Regions from separate parts of the Homo sapiens genome. Here region 2 is linked to region 1. The links are contacts of gene promoters, found by promoter capture Hi-C in blood cells and fetal thymus (Javierre and others, 2016). All regions are on one chromosome and are shown on one strand. Each heading gives the region's core, a stretch centred on a gene start or on the middle of the fragment in contact. The rest is flanking DNA. Distances are from core to core; before and after follow the strand shown.

The links. Contacts are between HindIII fragments. The CHiCAGO score rates a contact against its expected background, and 5 or more counts as called.
Region 2: the fragment with the promoter of ZDHHC21 here is called in contact with the fragment with the promoter of SNAPC3 in region 1 in 4 of 17 cell types (naive B cells, total B cells, activated CD4 T cells and 1 more); the score reaches 9.7 in naive B cells.

What each region holds. Positions count from the first base shown.
Region 1 is chr9:15,420,607-15,424,131 of GRCh38, reverse strand. SNAPC3 (small nuclear RNA activating complex polypeptide 3) reads right to left here and starts at 1,256. Exons shown (of 9, transcript NM_001039697.2): 1 at 939-1,256; 2 at 146-223. The coding sequence starts at 1,252. RefSeq lists an enhancer at 780-899 and a silencer at 1,240-1,529. The HindIII fragment of the contact is 2,004 bases long and covers 808-2,811 here.
Region 2 is chr9:14,692,182-14,695,661 of GRCh38, reverse strand. ZDHHC21 (zDHHC palmitoyltransferase 21) reads left to right here and starts at 2,230. Exons shown (of 10, transcript NM_178566.6): 1 at 2,230-2,433. RefSeq lists an enhancer at 1,725-2,225 and silencers at 2,299-2,368, 2,449-2,588. The HindIII fragment of the contact is 5,494 bases long and covers 1-3,480 here.

The sequences.
Region 1 (3,525 bases), core at 7-2,506:
AAGTAAATATGGTCAAATATTAAGAACAGCTGAATTTAAGGGGTGGGTATACAGACAACAATCAATACTGCACTTTCAACTTTTCAAAACATAATGTTGAAAAAATGTTTAAATAAATAGGTCATAAAAACCAAGTCCTCCATACCCCAAAGTCACCAGGTCAGTATTCTCCGGAATGACTTCTGGATCCTCACCGTCCTCAAGGCATTTCAGTTTATCAAGGCTAAAACAAAAAGGAAAAGCAATACTTTAAGGTCGACTCTGCATCTGGTTCACAGCGAGTTAGGGTTGTTTTCCTAAATACATTACTGAATTACGAAGTCAGATAAAATCCAGCAGGCGGCTCAGAGAGGCCAGAACTTAAGACAACGATTTCTGTGATTATATTTTATAATGAAAAGGCCGATGAAGGCAGCCAGTACTGTTAAATGGAGAAAGAGATTAAAGTTATTTTTATATTTTCATCCCCAAATAAGGCACTTTTAAGAAATATTTCAGTAACAGAATACCCGGAAGGTCCCCAAAAGAAACCAGTTAGTCGGGGTTTTAACACTCCTCTGATGAAGTCTCCCGCAGCTTCACCATTACTCAGGTTCCTCCATTGTCAAAGTGTCTGTCAATGGCAGGTACACGTCGCTGTTGCCCTGATTGCTTTTCTTTATTAACAAGCACTCTTAGAATAAGCAAATGGAAAAACTAGTCTTTGATGCAGCTGTCTTGTCCCTTTGCTCCAACTCGTAGAAACTGTGCATTCGGGTCCCAGGACTTCTCCTGGTGTCCCAGGAAGGCTCCAGCGGGTTGAAAGCTTTAAAGGGTAATACTCCTAGCCCAGGTCTAAACCACAGGCCCTTCTCAGGGATGAGTCCCAGAGGAGCGCACGAGCAAGGCTGCACCCTGTTTGACCCCAAGCTGCAAGAGCCCCTTTGCTCCGCACTCACCCGCACACCGCCCTCAGCTCAGCCGCCGCCTCCAGGCTGCAGTCCAGATCCCTGGCCACCGCGGCATCCTCCCGGTCGGAGTCAGCTGCCTGGCTCCCAGGCAGAGCGGATGCCGGCGGCTCCCTCAGCGACAAGTCCCCGGCCCCGCGCAGACGGCCCCGCCACAGCTCCCCAAAGGCGCCCACATGGAAAGCGCGCGTATTTAGCTCGGGAAGCTCATACTCTGGAAAGTTGCAGCCGCCACTGCCGGAGACTGGGTCCTGCCTGCCACCCACCCCGCTACACGTAGGGCCACCTCGGCTTCCTTCAGCCATGTTCGCCCCACTCCTTCCCCTGCAAAAGCCTGCAGATCAAGGCCTCGCAGAGCGTGATGGAAGTTGTAGTTGCTTGGGGCGCCCGGCCGGCGAGCGGCGAGGCGGCGCGGGCAGGGCATCAGAAACTACATTTCCCGGCAGGCCATGGGCAGGCCCGCCCCAGGGCGCGGCACCGCGAGGCTCTACGTGCAGGGCGCAGCATTGTTCTCCGACCCGGGCGGTGCGGGAACCGTTGCGGCTGTCGGTTAACCGCAGCGGGTGGGGCTGGGTTTCTGGTCCCCGAGTTACGTAGCAACTGTCTCTGCCCGGTAGGGCGGCCTCGCCAGGCGCTTAGGCCCCGTTCCTTGCGGCTTTCGGACTAAGGGGTGCAGGGCTTTTTCTTGACTGGGGTTCAAGGACTGCTCTGCTGCCTGATTGCTTTAGAGCCTAAGAAACAAGGAGGGCGAGGGCCGAGACCAGGGACACGACCAGCCCTCCAGATCTGGTTCTTTCACAAGCTCCGCAGAGGCCCCATGTTGGTGTGCGTGTGCAGTAGTGTTTCAGAGCGTCTGTGTATCACACGCTACATGATTAACCCTAATGTATGTTTTTAATGTTTTTAAAAATTACAACAACCTTTCCGGATAGGGCGTATCACCCCGTGTTGCTGTTGAGGAAGGATTTACCTGCGGGGAAAATAGAAGCAGGATCGGAACTCAGTCTGGCTTCAGATGGAGCTCTCTCCATTTCTCAGAGGCCCTGAAGGATACAGCAGGACATACTATTTATTTATTAGACTGTAATCACATGCCATATAATTCACCCATTTGAAGTGTTCAGTGATTTTTGGTATATTCACAGGCTTGGGCAACCATCACCACTATTTGAGAGCATTTTTACCACTCGAAAGAAGAAACTTGTACTTTTTAGCTATCACCCCTGATCCTCCCAACTCCTCCAGCCCTAGCCAACCAAGAACCTACTTTGTCTCTCTAGATTTAACTAATCTGGACATTTAATATAAACGGAATTATATGGTCTTTTGGTGGCTGGCTTAATGTTTACAAGGTTTGTTACAGGTAGTTAGGCATGAGCAGGGCAGGAGAGGGCTCTTCCCTCACCCACTAGGAATGTGGGGTGATGCTTAGGCATTTATCACATTGCCTCTAAAAGTGATAAATTGGCAGCCGGTGCCAGGGAGAGGCCATTTCCTGATGGCCCACACCTGTTGCACTAAAGTGCTCGTTGAATGCAGGTGACAGGGAGAAGCAACTTCCTGGGCATATGCATTAAGAGACAAAATCGGGGAGTATGACCTTTCAGGGGGACTCTATCGGAAAAGGGAAGAAAGCCTCAGATGGGCACGCATACAACTTCATACATATTGCGCTGTGCTCACTTCCCAAGGGTAAGGAGGGCACTGCGCATGGAGGCAGCCCACCCTAAGGGAAGAATCATGGGAAAGGAGCCAGCCTGTAAAGTCCTAGGATCGAGGTCAATATCACAGTTGACCTCAGTGACAGCTTGGGACTCTTCCGAGCGTGCTTTCCTTTCTTTCCTAAAGGCCTTTTAAATAAGCTTCCACTCCTGCTCTGAAACTTGCCTCAGTCTCTTTTTGTGCCTTATTGCCCCTCGGTCAAATTCTTTCTTCTGAGGAGGCAAGAACTGAAGTTGCTGCAGACCCATACAGATTTGCCCTGGTAACTTGGATACCTGCCACCTGTAACACGTTCATCCATTTTGTAGTATGTGTCAGTACTTCATTCCTTTTTTGGCTGAATAATATTGCATTGTATGTATATGCCACATTTTATTTATCAAAAAGTTTTTACCTTTTGGCGTTGCTATGAACATTCATGTACACATTTTTGTGCAAATACGTTTTCATTTCTCTTGGGCATGTGCCCAGTAGTATACAGTCAGCCCTCCCTATCTGTGGGTTCTGCATCCTCCAATTCAACCAACCACATATCAAAAATTACAGTATTCCCAGGTTGCAGAACCTGAGGATAAGAGGAATTTTCCTATGGGCGGATTCCACAGGGCTGACTGCAAGAAGAGCATCTGTCAATTTTGGAGTCCACAGGGGTCTTCGAAACAGTCCACCCTGCAGATACCAAGGGATTTCTGTATTTATGGAACTCTATTTTCAACTATTTGAGGAACTGCCAGATTTTTTTAAAGTGGCTGTCCCATTTTACTCCCCTCCCCAGCAGGATTCTCCACATCCTTGCCAACACTTATCTGAACTTTTTATTATAACCGTGTCAGTGAGTGTGAAATGGTGTTTCATG
Region 2 (3,480 bases), core at 981-3,480, 730 kb after region 1:
TGTATGGGTTGCAATACAATATAACCAATGATTAGCATGAATGATAGAACCAGATGACTTGACCTTCAGTGTAAGGGATAGGCAGGCCTTTGATTATACTCATGAAATGCCCATGCTAAAAAGGTTCATGTTTTTAAGGATGTTTCTCCTGCCTCTTCTCTCCTATTCCCTTGCTTAAAAATTCTCTGTGGAATTGATTTGGCTGATAAAAGACAGGCTAACTTATTTTAAAAAGGGACTGAAAAATCCATGCACTTCCAATTGTCATGTGCAATCATGGACCTGTCAACTAATTCTTATTTTGGCAGTTTTGAGATCACTTGTCACAAATTATTCCCTCTCACAGGGGTATCTGAAGAGAAAGCAAAATAATATGCAATTCATGTAGCTGGATTCAGGTGGAGGGGATTCTACTTTTAATATGCAATTGGGTAGCTGGATTTGGGTGGGGGGGGGATTTTACATTTAATATGCAATTCTGGTAGCTGGATTCGGGTAGGGAGGAGTCCACATTTAATATGCAATCAGGTAGCTGGATTTGGGTAGAAGGGATTCACATTGAATACGCAATCAGGTAGCTGGATTCCGGTGGGAGGATTCCACATTTCCTCTTCCTTCAAAGTGATTGTTTATATGAAATATCTCCTTCTTTTCAAACAGAGAAAGTTACAAAAATCCTACTACATCAAATGATTTATGAAAAATAAAGGTAATTCTATCAAAAGCAATCGTGACTAGTCTTTCAACCTCGCTATGCATATATCGGGGAGTGTATTTGTTAACCTGAAAGGCAATAAAATCTGCTTATGGGTAAATCAATTCCTACCACTGGGTTCTTTTGGGAATATCTAGTAATCTAGGTCAGTAATTCTAAAACTTGAGTGTGTATTAGGATCACCTAAAAGGCTTGTTACATCACGGATTGCTGGGCTACACCTAAACAGTTTCTACTACAGTAGATCTGGGATGGGGCAAAAGAATATGGATTTCTCACAAGTTGACAGGTGATACCGATGCTGCTGGTCTAGGGATCCCACTTTGATAACCACTGACCAAAGTTTTTAAGGTCACAAGGTGTTTATAATTAGTTCAGAAACCAGGACACAACATGTTTAAAAATCCTTAGCAATACAAGGTAATATGAGGCCCCAAACAGGCAACAATGTGCACTATATAAGGGCAGTGGTGAGAGAACTCTGGTTTGGCAAGATTTCCACTCTCAAATCTGGATAGGGTTAAGATCATCAGAGAGCAGGGCATTCTAGAATGGGGAAATGAACCAAATTAGTTGGAGCTAAGACTGGAGAGGTAGGTAGGGATGTGTCTGTGGAGGGCTTTTAAGCACATCTTATAAGGAATACAGATTTTATACAACAGGTAATATTTCTTCCACCAACACACTGTCTCCTCCTGTGGCACGTGGGCAGAAAGATCTAGCTCCACATTACTGCAAACGGTTTAACCTTCCCCAAATACTGTTCAGCCGGAGTGAGGTGGGAAAGTTAGTAGATCTCTGGTGTTTGGTGAAGATACCAAGTTAGACTGAGAGGTGGATTACTTGCATCGCTGAGTCCAAAAGTTGTCGGCTTTTGCAGGGATGGGAAAGCAGGAAACTTTTGGAGGTCTCCCAAAATATAAGAAAAGATTGTTTGGGTGTGGATTTAGGTTGAGGACAGGAACAGGAAATATCCTGGGATGTCTGAGGCAACCCAATAGAGGGTCTGAAGTGGACGAGACCATGCACTACAGTGCAATGCTTTTCCATCTTTACGGTGCACCCCAGGAGTCACCTGGTGATCTTGCTGAAGTGCATGTACTGATTCAGCAGGCCTGAAATTGTGCATTTCAAAGATTGTGAGTTCCCAGAGGATGCTGATGCTGCAGACCGCGCTTTGAAGCAAGGTACCATGGGACATCCCAGAACACCTGCGGGGAGAGAGGCCTGCTGGCCACATCCCCCGAAGAAAGGATACATGCAATCTTTTAAGCTAAGGCCCCCATCCTGTCTCTCGGGAGAGGTGAGCAGTGAGGATATGGGGACAATGAGAAGGACGGCTCAAGTAGGGCTGGGGAGGGGCAGAGGCGCCCAGGCGCGCCAGGTGCAAGCGCTCTGGAGAGTGCGGTCTGCCTGGGTCCGCGGCTCTGGGGCTGCGGCGCGATTGCAGGAGTTTCGGCCCTCAGCGGCTCCCATCGCGGCTCCCGGGAGCTAAGCGAGACGGCGACGGCGGCAGTCGTCCCTCCCCACGCGGGCGCGCGGGCATGCGGACACCCACTCGGCCGGTCCAGGCCCTCAGGCTCCCGGAAGCGGAAGGGGAGAGCGGCCCGGCCTGGGCGGCGGCGCCGGAGGAGGCGGAGGTGGCGCGGCAGGAGGAGGGGAAAGAGCTGCTGGCGGTCGGGAGAGCGGCGGCAGCGAGAGGCGAGCCAGCGGCGACGGTGAGTGTGCAGGCGCGGGGGCGAAGCGGCCGCCCCCACCCCCATCCCCATCCGCACCCCCACCCCCATCCCCGGCCCCCGCTCCGCTCTGCCGGGCCCGCCCGCCGCTCCTCCGCGCCGGGACGCCCTCACCTGTTCCTGCACGCCCCCTGCACCTGCTCTGTTTGGAACCCGGGGGTTTCTCGGTGCCTCCCCGCCCCAGGCCTGGCCTTTTTCAGAGCGTCTTCTGCTAGAGCTACAGCCCCTTGCTAAGTGCTCCTCCCTCAACTGGGGGTGGGGGGTTCCTGCTCTAGTCGAGACGATGTTGGCTAGTTATTTATTTATTTATTTTAAATCTGTATCCTGAGTTTCTCGCTTGTAAACTACAGTTTCTCTCCCCGCACCCCCGTCTGGAGACCTGCACTGGGATCCCGGGTTTCTCTGTGCTATTCCAGAGCTTTTCATTCATTCCAGACTTCTGGTGTGAAGCTGCAGAGAGGACAAACAGTTTGCTCCTTTATTGACCTTCTCACTCCTCTCCTCTTGATCCAAAGAGGTTTTCGGAAAATGGCTTATGGATGGCAGCAGTTTGCACTTGTTACTGTTCACTGTAACAGGTCGCTGGATTGTAACTGCAGAGTCCATTTAAGTTACGGTCTTTTTCAAGCTATATGTGGGTCACATTTTAAGATCCCTTGAGAGTCAGGGTGGATGTCTGTATCACCAGGGCTGAGAGGACATGACCAATTATTACTTTAAAATATTGCAATATAGCAGTCTCTAAAAGTAGAAGAGAAAAAAAAATCAAGGTCATTGTGGGCGGGTCATAAATTATATTGTAAAGTTACAGTCCAAAGGCGACTAAGGATAATTAAGTGCAATTTAAAAAGATGTGTTAAATAGGTCCTCAGCCTACTATGCTAATATATGCACTTTTAAAAATTCACTGCTTTCCTTGTGGTAAGAATAATATTAATAACAGTCACCATTTGATGACTGCTTAGTATGCGCCATTCCTGGATTAAAAGGCTTTTGGTGTAATATTAAATTCTTCCAACTCTTTAGATT